7 separate regions of the Homo sapiens genome follow, and all the other regions are linked to region 4. The links are contacts of gene promoters, found by promoter capture Hi-C in blood cells and fetal thymus (Javierre and others, 2016). All regions are on one chromosome and are shown on one strand. Each heading gives the region's core, a stretch centred on a gene start or on the middle of the fragment in contact. The rest is flanking DNA. Distances are from core to core; before and after follow the strand shown.

Region 1 (2,700 bases), core at 54-2,553, 710 kb before region 4:
TGCTTTCAAATAAATAATCATCGGTAGGAAAAGGAGATTTATTATATGTATAAACATGTGTTCTCTGTGCAGGGGATATCAGATGTATGCTAACTCTTTTGTGTAAAGAGATCATGTCTAAATCCCTTGAGTGGCTGTTCAGCTAACGTTTAGAGTCTCTTAATCTTGTATTTGATGCTAAACCAAATAGGCCCTTAGGGAAGAATTAAGAATAAGCCAGACAGTATAAAATTCTTATTTTGTTAAAGTTGAATAGTATTTGTTGCATTAGGTACAACCAGTGTAATCACTATGAGGGTTAGTTGAGTATACTCTCTGTACACATACACTCTAAAATAAAATGACCTAGGTATACAGAAGGACTAAAGGGATTAAAGATTTCTATCTTATTATTTGACATTGAGAGCACTGCCCTTTTGTTGAAACAAAATGTCATTCAGATGAATAGATAAGGTCATACCTCCAACATCACAATGAATCTAAATCGCGGTAAAAATAAGTTGAGTAACAAATTTTTACTTAAAAGCCATCAAATTTTATTTTGTGTTTTTGAGTCTTGGATTTTGTGCACAGAAACATTCTAATATTGTTTAAGCAACAGGGAATAGAAAAGATTAATCAGTAATTAGCAAAGCTTTAAAAAAATGAAAGTGAACATGAGTCCTAAGACACGCTGTGATTTTTGCTTTTTGTTGCTGTTGTCGTTGTTATTGTTGTTTTCGCTTTGTCTTCCAGGCTGGAGTGCAGTAGCATGATCATAGCTCACTGCAGCCTTGGACTCCTGGGTTCAAGTGATCCTTCCACCTCAGCTTCCTGAGGAGTAGTGGGGGCTACAGGCATGTGCCACTGCATTTGGCTAATTAAAAAAAAATTTTTTTTCTGGTAGAGCCAGGATCTTGCTGTGTTGCCCAGGCTGGTCATAAACTAACACTGTGATTTTTTAAACATGAGCTCTCCTTTGGGCTGGCAACGTGATAAAAGAAAATATGTTTTTCTTCTGAGGAAAATAATTATTTATGAACACATTTTTTCTTCATTAAAACATAGATTTAGCCCTAAAGTCTAAGTCAAAATAAAAACAACTTAAATATTGCTCCATAAGGCTAGTAGTTGGTAATTTTTGTTTTTTTTTTTTTGAAATGGGATCTCACTCTGTCACCCAGACTGGAGTGCAATAGTCAAATCTCAGCTCACTGCAAACTCTGCCTCCCGGATTCCGGCGATTCATCTGTCTCAGCCTCCTGAGTAGCTGGGATTACAGATGTACACCAGCACACCTGGCTAACTTTTGTATTTTTAGTAGAGACAGGGGTTTCACCATGTTGACCAGGCTGGTCTCGTACTCCTGACCTCAAATGATCCACCCACCTCAGCCTCCAAGTGCTTGAATTACAGGCGTGGGCCACCATGCTTAGCTAGTTGGTAATCTTTTAAGGTGAGGTTGCATTTACAGTAGTCAGTTGCGTTTACTGCCCTCGCCCCACATTTTGTTTTCAGGGATTCAGTGGAATTTGTTCTTATATTTATTTGTGAATAAGATTACATATTTCACTTTTTTCCCTTTCTTCTCTTTGGCTGTTGCTGTGCTGCATGCTTTAGTAATTATTACCAAGCCCCACCCTCGCTTCCAGATACCCAGGTGGCTTGTATTTTGTACCATGGCTCTGGTAGGGATGTGCTGCCTCTCCTGGATGCTACACAGGGTGCATTGGCCATGCTCAGGCTGAGCATCGCCTGGCTGCTGGTGCTGCAGCCCCTGCCACCCTCTCTGGCCCTGCTTGACATCACTGCCTCCAATTAGCTGCTTTCACTGCAGACACCCTAGAGCCCATACAGCAGATGCTGAGGTACTGGAACCTCAGGGTTGGGGAGGAGATGCTGAACTGCATAATATTCCTTGGAAAAGTGGGAGAGAATTCTTGCCTCCCTTTGAGGGCTGTACTCCATTAAACTGGTCCAGAAGTTTGGGTATAAAGCTTATACCCAAAGGTTTTGAGAAACAGGCATTTTCACTTTTAATTATATGATTACCTCTACTCTTTTTTTTTTTTTTTTTTTTTTTTTTTGAGACAGAGTCTCCCTCTATCGCCCAGGCTGGAGTATGGTGGTACGATCTCGGCTCACTGCAACTTCCACCTCCCAGGTTCAAGCGATTCATTCTGCCACCTCAGCCTCCTGAGTAGCTGGGATTATAGGCTCCCACCACCACACCTGGCTAATTTTTGTATTTTTAGTAGAGATGGGGTTTCACCATGTTCCCCAGGCTGGTCTCGAACTCCTCACGTTAAGTGATCCACCTGCCTCAGCCTCCCAAAGTGCTGGGATTACAGGTGTGAACCACCGCACCCAGCCCCTACTCTATTTAAAATAAGATTCAGGCATGAGTCCACTAGGCTGGACCAGGGAAAGATCTGAAAGACAAACACAGCCATTCTTCTCCCGGATAACTGACTCTTCAGTCTTGGAAGACATGGGCCGGCCTGCTCCTCTTTCCCCTTGGGACAAGTTTTACTTATGTGTGTATTTTTCTTCCCCGGGAGTCACTTGGGTTTTCGTGGAAATAGACTGCTGTTTGCCAAAGCCACGTCTGGGTCCCAGAGTTGATGTATTCAGACAGCACTGTCAACATACTCTAGCTAATGCAACGCTGGCTGGTGAGAAGAGCAGGAAAGTTATATAGGAAGAGAATGAGAGGGAAGA
Region 2 (2,700 bases), core at 100-2,599, 770 kb after region 4:
TCATCTACAGAGGAGAACAGGTATGTTACTCATCAAACAAGCATAACCAAGTTCACAAACATGTCAATAGAGCACAGAGACCGTGTAAGACTTGAGACACTTTTCAGTGAAATATCCACCACACAGTGTGCTAGTATTAATTACTTCAGATACAAAATAAAGGTATCAAAATAATTCTTTGACATCAACTTTTTACCTAAAACCCATTAGTAGCTGTCAGCCACATAACACAGTGTGAACAAGAGGGCAGCTGAGAAACAAAGGCTTGGGCCCTCATGCCGTTTTGAGGCCTGCAGCTCTGAACTAATGCCTTGTGCCACTTCGTGGGCAGCATGCCAGGGCAGCTGCTGTTAGTGGGTCTTCATGGATGTACATGCCACAGGATTTGTCCAAAAACAAAAACAATTTGTCTGAATGTAAGTGAACTTCAAATGAATACCATAACTACAATAAAAGAGAAAAATAAAGAAGGAAATAACTAAATATATATAACCTATGAAAACAGTATTTTATACTGTGCCTTCAGTCATGGGCAGGGTAGGGAATGCTGTTGGGGGAAGACTGACAAAGGAATCCTGAACTCCTTTTAGTAAATGTGTTGATGGAGATACCGTGGGCAAAACAGTGAAACTCTTAAGCATATTATAGGATTGAGCACATGAGCGGATGTGTTGATGTATTGATTTGAGGAGCCAAAATTCTCATGGTAGAAGAAGGGACATACAAATATGGAATGGAGAAGGTAAGAAAGACTCTAAGGGTGGACTGAAATTGGAAGTATTACTATGATCTCATGGTTTCTAACGTGTGTGTACACCCATGTAAATTTATGGGTAAGTAGTAATATAAGCATGTGTGTGTATATGAGAGAAAGAGAAACCAAGGAAGGGAGGGAAGGAGAGAGAGAGAGACAGACAGGAAGGAAAGGAGGGAGAGAAGAGAGGAAGGAAGGAAGTGAGGGAGGAAGAGAGAGAGGAAGGGAGGGAGAGAGCGAGGAAAGGAGGGAGGGAGGAAGGAAGTGAGGGAGGAAGAGAGAGCGAGGAAGGGAGGGAGGAGAGAGGAAGGAAGGAAGAGAGAAGAAAGGAGGGAGAGAGAGGAAGGGAAGCAGGGAGGGAGAGAGAGAGGAAGGGAGGGAGGGAAAGAGAGAAAGGGAGGGAAAGAAAGGGAGACAGATACTAAGGAAGGGAGGGACAGAGGAAAGGAAAAGAGAGAGAAGAAGGGAGGGAGAGAAGAAGGAAGGGGGAAAGAGATAAAGGGAAGGAAAGAACGGGAGAGAGAGGAAGGGAGGGAGAAAGACTGAGAGAGGAAGCAAGGGAGAAAGCGAGAGAGGAAGGAAGAGAGAAAGGGAGAGGAAAGAAAGAAGGGAGGAAGAGAGGAAGGAAAGAGGGAGGGAAAGAGAGAGAGGGATGAATGGAGGGGAGAGGCAGGAAGGGAGGGAGAGAGAGAGAGAGAGAGAGGAAGGGAGAAAGCGAGAGAGGAAGGAACAGGGAGTGAGAAAGGAAGGATTGGAGGAAGGAGAGAGAAAAAAAGGAAGGCAGGAGAGAGAGGAGAAGGGAAGTGGGGGAGGAAGGGAGAAGGGGGAATGAAGCGGGGAGAGAGGGGAGGGAGGGAGAGAGAGCTAGAGAGCGGAACGGAGGGAGAAAGTGAGGGAGAGCAGAAGGAAGGGATGGGGAGAGAGGGAGGAAGAGGGAGGGAGGGGGAGAGGGAGGGAGTGGGAGGGAGTGAGAGGGAGAAAGAGGTGGGAGGGAAGAAGGGATAGGCAGAGGGATGGGGGAGGGAGAAAGGGAGGGAGTGAGAGGAGACAGAGGTAGGGAGGGATGGAGGGGGAGAGAGGGAGAGAGAAGGAGGGAGGGAGAAACAGGGAAGGACGGGTGGAGGGAGGGATGACATGGGACTCATCATGTACCCATTATTAGACCAGGCAAGAATTATTAATGGATGCTAAATATGGGGATTGTTTCACTAAGGAGAAGAATATTTGCGTGGTTTTCTTATTACAGACTTACTTTCAAAGGGGGCTGGGGGGAGGAGTAATTATATATTGGAGAAAGGGGACAATGCCTTGACCAGATAATCAAAATCAACATCACCAATGAGGGACAGATAGGCTTATATTATCTCTCTAGGTGGATACTCTAAAGGCACGACATCTCTGCAGCATTCCAGCCAAAAATACATGATGTAAGTCTAATCAAAATGAGGAATGTTTTACTTTTTTTAATGTTGAAAGATTGTATTCTTCAAAAATGTTAATATTATAAAAGAAAGGCTGTGCTAACTTTCCAGATTACATGAGGCCCAAGAGACATGAAAACGAAGTTAACCTTCTGCCCCCAACTGCATCCAGTATTGGAAGAGAAAGTACATTATTAGATCAACTGACAGAATTGGAATATGGACATTAAATAAAAGGATTGTATCAATGTAAAATTATAAGGTTGATTCTGTACTTACGTAAGGCAATATGTCTATGCTTAGAAAATATATACTGGCATATTTAGGGATAAAGGACCATGATGATGTATATAACTTGTAAACGTTTTGGGGAGAATGTGTGTGTGTGTGTTTGTGTGTGTGTGTGTGTGTGTCTGTGTGTGTGTGTGTGTGTGTGTGTGTGTAGTGCGTATGTGTGGGTGTGGGTGTATCTAGTATACAGGGATAGGGAAGGGGCAAATGATAAAGCAAATGAGATAAATAAAA
Region 3 (2,700 bases), core at 119-2,618, 750 kb before region 4:
AAACATTTGCCTTGTTTCCAGTTTACTTACGATATATAAAACTGCAAGAAACATTTGTATGTAAGTCTCTATATGAGCATATGCTTTCTTTTTTTTGTCGCTAAATAACAAGAAATTGAGTGATCGGGTCATATGAGAGAAGGATATTCAATTTTTAAAGAACTTGTTAAACTGTTTTCTAAATTGGTTGTACCATTTTACCTTCTCACTGGCAGTGGATGAGAGTCCCACTTCCTCCCTATCCTTACCTTATGGATATATCCTGTCCTTGGTATGTTCAGACTTTTAAATTTTAAACATTCTAATAACTATGTGGTCCGAAATCACCTTAATTTTCATTTCCCAAATGACTAATTATGCTGAGAATCAGCTCACTTGCTCATCTGCCATTCATATAGCTTCTTTGGTAAAGTGTCCATTCAAATCTGGGCCCATTTTTAAAGTGCATTATTTGTTTTCTAATAATGTCTTCTAGAGGTTCTTTATATAATCTAAATGCTATGTTTTTCAGCTACTGTATATAATTTTCATTATCTTAACACCATTCTTCAAAGACCAGAAGGTATTTCTGATGATGCACAATTTATCAGCTTTTCACTTGTGGGTTGTATATCTAAGAAATCTTTGCCTAACTCAAGCTCACAAAAATTTTCTTGCATGTTTTCTTCTAGGAATTTTACAGTTTTTGTTTTACGTTTACTTGTCATTCCAAGTAGGCCTCATTCATTTTGAGTTAATATTTGTATATATTGTGATGTATGAAACAAGATTTTTTTAAAAATAAAAATATATAATTTTTCCAACACCATTTATTAAAAAGACTATCCTTTCTCCACTAAATAGCCTTTGCACCTTTGTTAAAAAACAAATGACTGTATGTGCGTGGGCCTATTTCTGGACTCTGTTCTCTTCCATTGATCTGTCTATTTTTATGCCAATACGGCACTGTTTTGACAACTCTAGCTTTAACATTTACCTTGAAGTCAGGTAATGTAAGTCTTCCAACTATGTTATTTTTCAAAGGTGTTGGCTATTTAAGATAACTTATATTTCCTTATAAAGTATGTAATAATCTAGTACATTTTAACAAAAATTTCTACAGACTGCATTGACTCTTTAGATCAGTTTTGAGAGAATTGGCCAGGCGCGGTGGCTCAGGCCTGTAATCCCAGCACTTCAGGAGGCCAAGATGGGCAGATCACTTGAAGTCAGGAGTTCGAGACCAGCCTGGCCAACATGGTGCAACTCCGTCTCTACTAAAAATACAAAAATTAGCTGGGCATGGGGGTGTGCACCTGTAATCTCAGCTACTCAGGAGGCTGAGGCAGGAGAATTGCTTGAACCTGGGAGGTGGATGTTGCAGTGAGCCGAGATTGCTCCACTGCACTCCAGCCTGGAGCGACAGAGAGAGACTCTGTCTCAAAAAAAAATTTTTTTTGAGAGAATTGACATTATAATATTATTGAGTCTTCTGATCTACCAACAATGTATATATCTCCATTTATTTAGATCTTTAATTTCTCTTAGGAATATTTTGATATTTTCAGTTTACTGGTCCTGTACATCTTCTGACAGATGAATCCCAAAGTATTTGACATTTTTGTCAAATGTCAAGTGACCTTTTTTTATTTCAATCTCCAATTGTTGTTAGTACATAAAATTGTAACTGATTTTTGTATAGTGACCTTATATCTTGCAACCTTGCTAAATGCACATAGTAGTTCTAATAGTTTTTTGGTAGATTTTTTTCGCATTTTTAACAAGATGTCATTAGTGAATTGAGAGTTTATTTTTTTCTTTCAAATCTAAATGTCTTTTATTGTATTTATTTATTTTTCCTTATCACACTGATTAGTACCTTCAGGACAATGATGAAGAGAATTGATAACATAAATCTTTGTCTTGTTCCTATTCTCAGGGACAAAGCATTCAGTCTTTCACCATTAAGTAGGGGTGAGTCTATGTTTTTCTTATCTGATAAAGGTAAATCCTTTATCTGGTGGATGAAGTGCCCTTCTATTCCAAGTTTGTTGAGAGTTTTTATCAGGAATAGATGCTGGATTTGTCAAATGCTTTTATTGCATCAATTGAGATGATAGTATGATTCTTACTTTTTAAATTGTTGATATATTTACTTACATTGATCAGTTTTAAAATGTTAAACTAACTTTCCATTCATGGGAGAGGAAACTCACTTAGTCATGATCTACTATGCTTTTTGTATATAATTGGATTCAGTTTAATAAAGTTTTGATAAGAATTTTTGCATCTATGTTTATGAGGGACATTGGTTAGTAGTTTCCTTTTCTAGTCATGTTGTTGTCTGGTAGCAGGTAATGCTGGCCTCATAGGATGAGTTAAGAAGGAGTTCTATCTCTTTCCTTTTCTGGGAGAGTTTGTGTACAACTGGTGTCATTGCTTCTTAAACATTTGGTAAAATTCACCAGTGAAGCCATGTAGGCCTGAAGTTTTTTGTTTTTTGTTTTTTGAGGAAGGTTTTTAATGGCAACTTCAATGTCTTTAATAGAGAGCTATTCATATTATTTATTTTGTGAGTGGACTTTGCTCATTTGTGTCTTTCAAGAAATGTGTACATTTAAGTTGTTGAATGTTTATTAGCATGAAAGCATGAAGTTTTTAGAACATTCTGGTTTTTTTTTGTTTGTTTTTTTTTTTTTCTTTTGAGGCAGAGTCTCGCTC
Region 4 (2,700 bases), core at 69-2,568:
TCAGATGAGCTAGTTTATCCAAGATCAGGTGAGTCAGTTTATCAATCTGGGAGGTGCCAGCTGATCCATCAAGTGCAGGGCCTGCAAAATATCTCAAGCACTGATCTTAGATTTTACAATAGTGATATTATCCCCAGGAGCAATTTGGAGAGGGTTAGAATCTTGTAGCCTTCAGCTGCATGAGTCCTAAATCATAATTTCTAATCTTTCGGCTAATTTACTAGTCCTACAAAAGCAGTCTAGTCTCAAGAAGAGGGTTTATTTTGAGAAAGGGCTATCACCTTTGTTTTAAACTATAAGCTATACACTAAGTTCCTCCCAGTGTTAGTTTGGCCTACGCCTAGGAATGAATAAGGATAGCCTGGAGGTTAAAAGCAAGATGGAGTTGGTTAGGTCTGATCTCTTTCACTGTCTCAATGATAATTTTGCAATGGCAGTTTCACATCTGAGGTTTCTATTGCGTGTTCCATGGTATTCAATAATCTCTTCACTCTGGTTGCTGGGAGCTCAAATGATTCCCAGTTCTGTGTGACCTCTCACCATTGTTTGGTGTACTGCTCCCCAGTAATTGTTCTTTCCTGGCCTTGTGGAGTTTCACGTTTTTTATTCAGTTAAAGATTCAAGGTACTCCTAAGCAGATTTCTGAAGCTCTTTTTCCATGTAATTCCCTCCTCTCCAGAATTCTGCCCTACAAATTCCAACCGACTTGGCCTACCCCAATTTCGTCAACTCCAATCTCTGTCTTTTCAACCCAGGAGATCCTAGGTTTCCATATGATTTCCTTTCATCGCACCACAGACTGGAAATCGCCTCTGGGCAAAAGGGCAGGATGATATACGGCTCCTTTTATTTCTTTTCTCTCAGGTAAAACAGTCCACAGCTGTCCGTTGTCCAATGTCTGAATAGGTGTCTCCTATATTTTGTTCCGTTTTCTAATTGTTTATAGTGGGACACTAAGTCCCGACCCATTTTCTTTTCTTGCCCAGAGTGGAAGTTTTAGGAAACTCCTTATGGAAAATGTGAATTGTTTTATTATTTTTTATGGTCGAAAACATCTTTCTCTATGATATCTTCCCACTCACCCTACTTTTTTCCTTCTCAGGAAACACTGACGGGAACACACGTGCCGGTGCTACCCTCCAGTGACTGGACTAGATCCTTGCGCAACTTCAACCCGCGCTAGCTCCGCCTACGGCCGGCCACGCCCCGTCTTCTCACCGGCGCGCCTCCCTCTTGTTCGTCCTCCCTCCCCCTGTGGACTGCGGCGCTGGCGTTCCGCGCACGCCGGCTCACTGCGCCTGCCCGGCGTGTGGACGCCACACGCTCCCGGAAGTGGGAGGTGGCCGCTGGAGTTTGTGTGGCCGCCGCCGCGGGAACGCGAGCCCGGTAATTTTTCAACGGAGAAAGGCGAGGCTTTCGGGCTCTGCAGAGTGAGAGTTAGCAAGTGTCCGGCTCCAGCAACTCTCCTCTGGCGTGACAGCCGGCATGGAGGATCCACAGAGTAAAGAGCCTGCCGGCGAGGCCGTGGCTCTCGCGCTGCTGGAGTCGCCGCGGCCGGAGGGCGGGGAGGAGCCGCCGCGTCCCAGTCCCGAGGTGAGGAGTCGACCCGCGCCTGGCTGTTGGCGCCAGCTGCCCCGTCCCCAAAGCGCCCTCGGCACCCCTTTCTTCTCAGGTGTCCCGCAGAAGGTGCAGCTGTGCGCCCTTGGACCCCAGCCTCTTCCTCGGTGCCCAGCTCCCTGGCTTTATCCTCGGGTGGGTGTCTTGGAGCCCCCTCAGGGCCGAATCACTCTCTGGGAGGGAGGAAATCGTCAAGACCAGTTCTGTCTACAGTGGGTTAACAGGTTCTAAGAGGGAGTTTTGCTTTAAACTTAATTCTGTGTTCACGGTTGCTGTTGTCACTCCATGTAGCCGTTATGGGTAGTTTGCAAGGCTTTATGTTTTTAAAATCTCACCATATACGCTAGGTATGTCACTTCATGCCTGTTTTTAAAAAAAGAAAAAATTTAAAAAGCACTCACCAGCATCCCTGTCTCTGTACCTGTTAAGTGGAGCTTCGTCTTAGCTGCTTTTGCTCATTAACTGGTGTCTCATATAACCATAGTATAAGATTGAATGAATCATTTTGACATCTCATCGGTTGAACTTAGTTACAGTGGCAAAGTTGTAGAACAGTCTTAAAACTTATTTAACGAATGTTAATTGTTGACTAGCGCTGCGGATTGTAAGTGATTGAATACTAAAATTGATCTTTTCCTAATAATAAACATGTTGAACACTTCGTAAAGCTTCATAAAGTGCGTATTTGCAAGAGGCCTCCTAACTCTTGCTCCTTCCGTCCACAGTCAGTTTCCATCTGGCAGCTAGAATGAGCTTTTCAATAACATGAATTTGGCTTATTCCCCTCCTGAGTCACTTCCATTTGCTGCTCTGCGGGGTCGGGTGCCTGCCTCCCTTGGTAATTGCATCTCACACAGTTTTTTCCCTTTTGTTCCCAGTGCCCCTCGCTGCCTTGTGTTCTTTGACATTGGAAAGAAGGTCTCGTTAAGGATCTCTGTATGTTCCTTTTGCCCTGTGTGCACTTCCTTTGGATCCTTGCAATTATCTTTCTCCTTCTAAGGTTGTTATTTCAAAGAGTACTTGCACATCCCTTCTCTTGTAAAGAACCACTCTTCCACCTGCCTCCCTCTTCAGCCTGAGATA
Region 5 (2,700 bases), core at 74-2,573, 740 kb after region 4:
AGTTCAAGACCGGCCTAGGCAACATAGCGAGACCCCATTTCTACCAAAAAATACATATCCATATCTATAGATGTATAGATATTAAAAATTAGTAAATTCCTTGCTTCCCACAGTTCCTGTACTAAGCCAGTCAGAATAAGGGCTGCATGTCACTCCTACATTTCACAGCCTTAGGAATAATCTATATATTTGACTGGCTCAGTGCTGTGTTAAATAAACACAGATTAATTGACTAGGCTGAGGATGAAATAATAATCTGAGGTAGCTGTGAAATTACATAGTTATTTACTTATGTAGTTATTTATTGATCATTATTCCTTCATACTTATTTACTTTTTTCCCCTAGAGAGCTCAATCTGCTCTGTGTGTGTCTTTGAGCCTTTTTTGTATAAAAAGAACCTCAGTTTTTCCAAATGGAGAAAAAAATACATATTTATTTAAGAAGCATCAATAAAAATTACAAGTTGCATGAGAGTTGATATTAGTGGTAGTGTGCCTTACTGTGTCGGTGTTCTTTATATAATAATGCCTTGTGTTATATTTGAATACATGTTTATACAAGACAGTTAACTTTTCTGCTAAGTCAGTAAATGGCATTGATACTTATTACCACAAAGCATGTAAATTTATATCTTATAAGAGTAAATCAATTGACTGATTCATTTTCTCTCAACTGTTTTTATTTTCCAGTGCTTTCTCTAAAATGGATAACATTTGGGGAATTTCATGACATAATTGTAATAAAGCCTCTGTACAATTAAATGGCTTTAACTGAAGCCAAGCATGTTTCTCTTTCCCCTACTTCCCACCTTTTTAAAATTAAAAGCTTCCCAGTCTTTTTAGGTTGTATTTGTCATTTAAAGCATTTTGTATTGCAGCTGGATTCTGAAACTAGGTTAAATTGTCTGTTTCTCCTGGAAACATTCCAACAGAGATCAGTTTCTTTTCTGGACCTTCTAGTTCAATACTTTGCTCTTATATACTGTGTTGAATAGAACTGAACTGCTATTTATTGGATTTGTCAGCCTTAAATTCCAGTTACTATTTTTGCCTCAATGGTGTAGCTATTTAAAAGAATTAAACAGCTTAAGAACTGTATTTTTAGTCTATTTGGGTAGTAATATACTCCTTCCTGTTCATTGTTCTTTCAGACATTTGTCAGAAAATTTCACAAGCATGTAGTTGGTTTGTCCAAGCATAAACTATAACTTCAATATAAAGAAAGCTTAATAATACATACCAGATATACAATTCATTTTATACACACATACAGAAACAGGTAATTTTCCTTGGACTTTTTGTAATTTTGGAAGCCTGTGTAAATTAGTCTACCAGATTATATTATTCGGCCTGTAAACATGGGAGTTCAATAAAATTAATCATCAGAAACACAGTTTAAGTAGCTTGTAACCTCACTGGGGAGAAGCTTGAAATTATTCCGTGCTTTTGGGTTAACTTAACAAAAATTGCTGCCTTTTTTCAACATATAGCCTTTGAATAAGGGAGATAAATTACTAGGTTTGGTTTTGTTTTAGGTGATTTTGATAATACCACGAGTGGTACCTCTGTTTTCATCTTTTGTGTTAGAAAATTTAAAAATAATTAAGCTATAGAATTAATTTTATAGTGATATTATAATCCCAGAAGAATCACAAAACATCCTGTTCTGAGAAGACTTAGTCTGATTATGCTGCTTATTTATTTTATTTTTTGTTTATGGGGTTTTTTGTTTTGTTTTGTTTTGAGATGGAATCTCACTCTTCACCCAGGCTGGAAAGCAGTGGTGCAATCTTGACTCACTGCAATCTCCGTCTCCCAGATTCAAGCGATTCTCCTGCCTCAGCCTCCCAAGTAGCTGGGATTACAGGTGTGTGGCGCCACACCCAGCTAATTTTTGTGTATTTAGCAGAGATGGGGTTTCGCCATGTTGGCCAGGATGGTCTCAAACTCCTGACCTCAAATGATCTGCTGGCCTCGGCCTCCCAAAGTGGTGGGATTACAGGCCTGAACCACCACACCTGGCCTATTTTTTGTTTTTGGGGGCGTTTTTTGCTTTGTATTATTAGAGCAAATGTGGAAGCTTTCCTTAGTAGTTGGCTGATCTGTACTTTTGTTTTTAGATAAATGTTCTTCACTTTGTTTTCAGAAACTACTATTTCTAAAATTAGGAAATACAGATATTTATATTACATAAAGTTAAATACTACCTCAGAAAAAGTGCCTGTTCTTTTTGAAGTGAGTGTCTTCAAGAGTGCAGGGAAGACGATATCTTAAGGAAGATAGAAAGTGACATGCATTAAGTTGCATCTTGGGATCTTTCTTGGCCTTCCCTGTCTTTTCCCATTCTCATAAATGTCTTCCTTAAAAGCCTCAATGTGTGGTAGTCGAGCAGCAGCATGAGTTAGAAATTTATTTTCAATAGATGATGTGCTTTTGAGTTAATTATCCAAACTGACCAAGTTATGCCCAGAAATGTGTCTGTAAGGGACACAAATGTGCCAGTTGCACCAAATTATAGCATACTGGAGTTGAAATGGATCTCAGAAATACTTAAGTGCTAACCAGCCTAACATCCTAAATGTATTTATAAAAATATACAAGTTATTTTTAATATTCTTAAAAAGCCTATTTGTTGAATCAGTAGTGCCTATTGTGTGATCGATTGTCTTAGCTTATTTTATAAGGATTTTTGGGAAGAAG
Region 6 (2,700 bases), core at 158-2,657, 830 kb after region 4:
AATTATCCATGCTGTTTTATGTTTTCTCCCCAAATAGGCTTTGAGCTCCCTGAGGAATAGTAGCAAATGGAAAATAATGAAAATGTGATGATTTATTTATTTTACCCTTACAGTTCCAAATCAAAATAATAAGATAATCTTTAAGCCACCAATTATATGCAGGAAAGAAGTTCAGTAGTCATTGGAAGGCTGGTTTCTGTAATTCTCACCATGGTATTCCTAGCACCATAGCACCTGGTCTGTGGCAGACACTTAATAAATATCTCCTGAATTGTACACTGTTTTTGTTTTATAAACTATTTCTCAAGGAAACTGAAATAGCATATTGTTTTGGCTTAAAGAGGCTGCAATCTTCTTAATCTCATAGGGAATATTATTGAAAAGAAAGAACCCAGACATCATTGTCTTATCCTTTGTTAAAGTCATGAATTTTTCCACGTGGAATATTGTATGATTTATGGTACTTTAAGAAAAGAAGCTCCCAAGAAAGCATAGTTTGAATGATGAATATTATCAGAAATCCAAAGGCCTGTATCTTCAGCATAAGGGTGAACTAGCCCTCAGGTTTTCATATCTGGTTTGTTCAGGAAACCTCAAGCAGTTCCTAGATGGGTAGTGCTTCTACTGCAGGCAGGAGCATGTGCAAATCCTCTCTGGGGAAAAGAAGCTTCACCCAATGTCTAAGTGCTTCCTATAAATAATTTTTTTTTTTGAGATAGAGTCTCACTTTGTTTCCCAGGCTGGAGTGCAGTGGCACAATCTCGGCTCACTGCAACATTTGTCTCCTGGGTTCAAGTGATTCTCCTGCCTCATCCTCCCAAGTAGCTGGGATTACAGGGGCCTGCTACCATGCTTGGCTAATTTTTTGTATTTTTAGTAGAGATGGAGTTTCACCATGTTGGTCAGGCTGGTCTTGAACTCCTGAGCACAAGTGATTCACCCACTTCAGCCTCCCAAAGTGCTGGGATTACAGGTGTAAGTATCATGCCTGACAATAATTATTGTTAGTATAATAGCAGTACACAAAAATAATAAATGCAAAAGGAGAACAAAACATAACTAAGAACCAGAAAAACAACAGAACAAAGTCCACAAAGATGTCATTGGAATATTAAAATTCCAATAAGAATTGAAACAGTTGAACACAATTAAACAACTGTCATTCTTACTATATTTAAATGAACAAAACATAAGCTTGGATGCATCTACGGGGAAATAGAAGTAAACAACAACAAAAAGCAAATATAATAGAAAAAACAAATATAGCTTCTAGAAATAGAACACACAATCCTGAAATTAAAAGTTCACCAGATTGGTTCACAATCATGTTAGACATAGCTGAGGAGATAATTAATCACCTTGAAAATAGGCACAAAAAATTTTCCAGAAAGTAGCGCAGAGAAACAAAAGATCAAATACATAGAAAAATGATTAATAGGCAGAGAGAAAAAGTCTAACATATATTTTATTGATGTTCTATAAGTAGGGGGGAATGGGGCAGCAGCAACGTATGAACAGAGAAAGGTGAATAATTTTTTAGAAGTGCTGAGAGAGCAAACCACAGATTTGCTGTGAATCGCAAACTGGTTCAATACAAAAAAATTTACACTGAGATTACAGTAAAGCTTAAAAGATCAAAACAATGGAGATCTTAGAAACAACCATGCCCAGAAAAGGCTGGGCATGGTGGCTCATGTTTGTAATCCCAGCACTTTGAGAAGCTGAGGCAAGAGGATTGCCTGACGCCAGGAGTTTCAGAGGAGCCTGGGCAACGTACTGATACTCCATCTCTGAAAAAAAAAAAAAAGGATAATAATTAGCTGGGCATCATGGTGCACACCTGCAGCCCTAGCTACTTGGGAGGCTGAGGTGGGAGGATTGTTGGGTCCAGGAGTTTGAGGCTACAGTGAGCTGTGATTGTACCACTGCACTCTGGCCTCGGTGACAGAGCGAGACCCTGTGTCAAAAACAAAACAACAAAACAAAACAACCAGAGGAAAAAGACATCTTCAAAGGAGCAGCAGTGAGACCAACTGCTGACTTCTCAATGGCAACAATGGGAAACCAAAGACAATGGAATGGCATTGTCAATGCATTAAAAGAAAATAACTACTACTTTATATACCAGAAAGAGCTATTTCAGGAATGATTTTGAAATAGACATATTTTTCATACAGACAAAATGAAGGGTTTTTCATTATCAAATTCTCAATGAGGCAAATTCTAAAGGATATATTTCAAACAGAAATCATATGATACTAAATGGAAGAAATGAATATAGAACAAAAAGTGGTAAACATTGGCTGGGCATGGTGGCTCAAGCCTGTAATCCCAGCACTTTGGGAGACAGTTGTAGGTGGATCACCTGAGGTCAGGAGTTCGAGACCAGCCTGGCCAACGTGATGAAACCTCATCTCTACTAAAAATACAAAAATTAGCTGCATGTGGTGGTGGGCACCTGTAATCACAGCTACTCGGGAGGCTCAGGCAGGAGAATTGCTTGAGCCCAGGAGACAAATGTTGCAGTAAGCCGAGATTGCACCGCTGCACTCCAGCCTGGGTGACAAGAGCAAAACTCCATCTTAAAAAAAAAAAGTGGTAAATATCTAGATAAAATCTATATTAACATTGGTTAGATAAAACAATAATAATACCTTGCGAGGTTTAAAATAAAATTAAAATACATGACAATGCCAGCAA
Region 7 (2,700 bases), core at 150-2,649, 760 kb before region 4:
CAGACACCTGAAACACGAAGTTCACAGCAGGGTCAGGCTTTGTGTCATTTGAAGCCCTCTAGATAGGCCGAGAACCAGAGCTGTTTTTGTAAGGAACACCAGTGAGTCTGGAGATTTTTTTCTTTTGCTTCGGTCTTTTGCAGCTTTCTCTACTAAGGGTTCTCCTTTTTCACCCAAGTAATTGCCTTTCCATCTAATGGCTCAAATGGTCAAAAGGCATCTAATAGTCTCATATGATCGCTGCCTCTCTGGCCTCGCCCTGCTGCTGAGGTCAGCGTGACCTGGAACTGTCCGCTGGTCCCTTTCAGTAACCTGAAGCTTTCACCGTAGATGTGCTGTATTGCCCAGAAGCCATTGTGTCACTGGTCAGGGTCCTGCGGAGGCTGGCTGCCTGCCGGGAGCACCAGCGGGCTTCTGAGGTCTACGTGGCCTTCGCTGTCCGCAATTGAGAGACGTGCCAGCTGTTCACCACCGAGCTAGGTGAGCCCCCACCCCAGCCTGGGCCTGTATGTCCCTGAGCTGTCACTGCAGGACTCCAGTGGAAGTGAAAGAGCTGGGCACCAGGGAAGAGCTAGGATGCCCCACACTCCGACACCATGAGGGGAACTCGGGCAGAGGCCGGTGAGCAGGGTGGGCTCGGGGCATTGGGGGCTTGCAGCAGGAGGAGGGTAGCTCAGCACAGGGAGGGAGGGTCTGAGCCCAGCAGCCCTACTGTGTGCTTCAGAGCAGGGTTCCCTAAGCCCTTGGGCCTCGGTTTCCTCATCTATAAAATGGAGGTGGCAGGAGGGGCAGTCGGGGTCAGGGCTGGACAGAGCTGTGGCCTGCATGACGCTGGAGCACAGGCTGTACAGGCGGATCCTCCACTCCACTGTCTTGAGCACCCAGTTGATGGAAGACGAGCAGGGTGACTATAGAGAAGGGGAACTGGCCCCGTAGTGGGCCACCCACTGTCCTCAGACCTGACATTTGTCAGCCCCCAGCACCTGTGAGGGTGTGCTGTCATTGTCCCATCTCACCGACAAAGACAGTAGGACACACAGAGGCCAAGCGACCCCCGACCCCCTCCCAAAGCCACTGCCCTCCCACACCTGGGCAACAGTGGCCCCAACCCCAGGCCCAGGCCTCCTGCAGGAAGGAAGAGGACTGAATGGAGGGCATGGCAGGCTGAAAGGACGTGGCCTCCTCAAACCCCTTGGTAAAGGGCCTCTGGGGCCACCTGGCAGGGAGGGGCTGGCACACCAGGAAGTAGCCTCCTCCTGGGAGTTAAGCCAGAGCCCAAGTCCTGTCCCCAAGTGGCCTCCAGAGCCACCTTTTCAGAAAAAGTACATCATGCCCATGCCTGTTACCCCTGCTTAAGTCCCCGCCTCCTCCCTGAGCCTCCTGCTGGCCTCTCACCTAGAAGCGGGGGTAGTCCTCGGCCCTCCAGCCAGTGGGTGCAGACCTGGATGTGCTGGAAATGCTTCTGGTGGATGAGGCGGCTGTAATACTCCCTCAGAGGCCCTTTGCCTTCACAGAGAAGAGCAGACACTGCCATGGACCCGTCTCTGTCCCTGCCACATGGCCCCAGGCCCAAGACACTCCCCCTAGGAGGGATCCTTTTCCCAGAAGCTCCACCCCTCGGCAGCTCCAGTCAGGCCCCATCTGGGCCCTTCCAGAAGCAACCCAGGAGCCCCGAGACCTGCAGGGGTGTGTGCACCCTGACCCCTGATGCATAGCCCTGCACCTGCAGCCAGCTGGCCTCGGGCTGCAAACATGGTGGGGTAAGCACTGGCCTGGCACCTGACCACCCACTGGGTGGACCCAGCCTTCTGTCTGTGTTGTGCACAGGGGACACGAGGACTCCCCCTGCCCTGCCGCAGCCCCCAGAGCACATGGTGCGGGTTCCAATCCGCGCCTGCCCTGCCACAGCCTCCAGAGCACATGGCGCGCTTTCCAAACCACTCCTGGGAGCCTAGAGGCCAGAGGAGGGAGGAGAGCAGGACCAGCAGCTGGCCCAGACCCCGCCTCTTCCTACACCACTTCCGCTTTTCTCCCTCCTCACTGAGTCATCTTGAAAGGGCTCAGCAGCAGTAACTGTGGGACAGGGGCTCTTCCATTTGAAAAATTAAAAGAGGCTTGGTTAAGGCACCAATGACATGGCCGGGCACAGTGGTTCATATTTATAATGTCAGCATATTGGGAGGCCAAGGCGGGTGGATCACTTGAGGTCAGGAGTTCAAGACCAGCCTGGCCAACATGGTGAAACCCTGTTTCTACTAAAAATACAAAAATAAGCTGGGTGTGGTGGGCACCTGTAGTCCCAGCTACTCGGGAAGCTGAGGCATGAGAATTGCTTGAATGTGAGAGGCAGAGGTTGCAGTGAGCTGAGATCGCACCACTGCACCCCAGCCTGGGAGACAGAGACTTTGTCTCAAAAAAAAAAAAGACACCAATGACATAACAACAACAGAAAAGATGCTTGGAAACTACTGAAAAAGTAGAAAGCTTGGTATCTACAGATTCACATCTGGGCTCCCTGCCCTGCTGTGAAACCCTCTGAGCCTCAGTTTCCCACGTGTCAAGCAGTATAAGACCCTATGGCAGAGAGCTGCAGTGAGGATTAAGGAGACAAGATCGTGGGAAGCACAGGGTGAAGGCTGCGTGCCCCTCCCCCTCTGCCATCCCCCAGCCAAACAGACACCCAGGGTCCCAGGCAGTACC

What was found. Contacts are between HindIII fragments. The CHiCAGO score rates a contact against its expected background, and 5 or more counts as called.
Region 1: a fragment that was not itself captured here is called in contact with the fragment with the promoter of ERI1 in region 4 in 6 of 17 cell types (naive B cells, total CD4 T cells, total B cells and 3 more); the score reaches 6.8 in naive B cells.
Region 2: a fragment that was not itself captured here is called in contact with the fragment with the promoter of ERI1 in region 4 in 2 of 17 cell types (naive B cells and total CD4 T cells); the score reaches 5.3 in naive B cells.
Region 3: a fragment that was not itself captured here is called in contact with the fragment with the promoter of ERI1 in region 4 in 5 of 17 cell types (total B cells, M0 macrophages, naive CD8 T cells and 2 more); the score reaches 10.1 in total B cells.
Region 5: a fragment that was not itself captured here is called in contact with the fragment with the promoter of ERI1 in region 4 in 1 of 17 cell types (total CD4 T cells); the score reaches 5.2 in total CD4 T cells.
Region 6: a contact is called between a fragment that was not itself captured here and the fragment with the promoter of ERI1 in region 4, in 1 of 17 cell types (fetal thymus). The highest score is 5.4, in fetal thymus.
Region 7: a fragment that was not itself captured here is called in contact with the fragment with the promoter of ERI1 in region 4 in 4 of 17 cell types (non-activated CD4 T cells, naive B cells, total B cells and 1 more); the score reaches 6.4 in non-activated CD4 T cells.

What each region holds. Positions count from the first base shown.
Region 1 is chr8:8,290,077-8,292,776 of GRCh38, forward strand. No RefSeq gene overlaps it. Among named protein-coding and RNA genes, the nearest start is that of FAM85B, 64 kb to the left of the region's middle. The HindIII fragment of the contact is 1,342 bases long and covers 633-1,974 here.
Region 2 is chr8:9,770,243-9,772,942 of GRCh38, forward strand. TNKS (tankyrase) reads left to right here. Exons shown (of 27, transcript NM_003747.3): 26 at 1-20. Among named protein-coding and RNA genes, the nearest start is that of MIR597, 30 kb to the left of the region's middle. The HindIII fragment of the contact is 3,049 bases long and covers 1-2,700 here.
Region 3 is chr8:8,255,843-8,258,542 of GRCh38, forward strand. No RefSeq gene overlaps it. Among named protein-coding and RNA genes, the nearest start is that of FAM85B, 30 kb to the left of the region's middle. The HindIII fragment of the contact is 4,421 bases long and covers 1-2,700 here.
Region 4 is chr8:9,001,579-9,004,278 of GRCh38, forward strand. It overlaps ERI1 (exoribonuclease 1), which reads left to right and starts at 1,319. Exons shown (of 7, transcript NM_153332.4): 1 at 1,319-1,593. The coding sequence starts at 1,486. It overlaps LOC105379227 (a long non-coding RNA gene), which reads right to left and starts at 1,164. Exons shown (of 3, transcript XR_002956680.2): 1 at 1,083-1,164. The HindIII fragment of the contact is 5,155 bases long and covers 1-2,283 here.
Region 5 is chr8:9,743,681-9,746,380 of GRCh38, forward strand. All of the region lies in intron 17 of TNKS (tankyrase), which reads left to right. Among named protein-coding and RNA genes, the nearest start is that of MIR597, 3.4 kb to the left of the region's middle. The HindIII fragment of the contact is 201 bases long and covers 1,224-1,424 here.
Region 6 is chr8:9,833,896-9,836,595 of GRCh38, forward strand. No RefSeq gene overlaps it. Among named protein-coding and RNA genes, the nearest start is that of MIR124-1HG, 68 kb to the right of the region's middle. The HindIII fragment of the contact is 431 bases long and covers 1,193-1,623 here.
Region 7 is chr8:8,236,796-8,239,495 of GRCh38, forward strand. It overlaps the pseudogene FAM86B3P and the pseudogene ALG1L13P. Among named protein-coding and RNA genes, the nearest start is that of FAM85B, 11 kb to the left of the region's middle. RefSeq lists enhancers at 24-575, 576-1,126, 1,382-1,711. The HindIII fragment of the contact is 2,166 bases long and covers 317-2,482 here.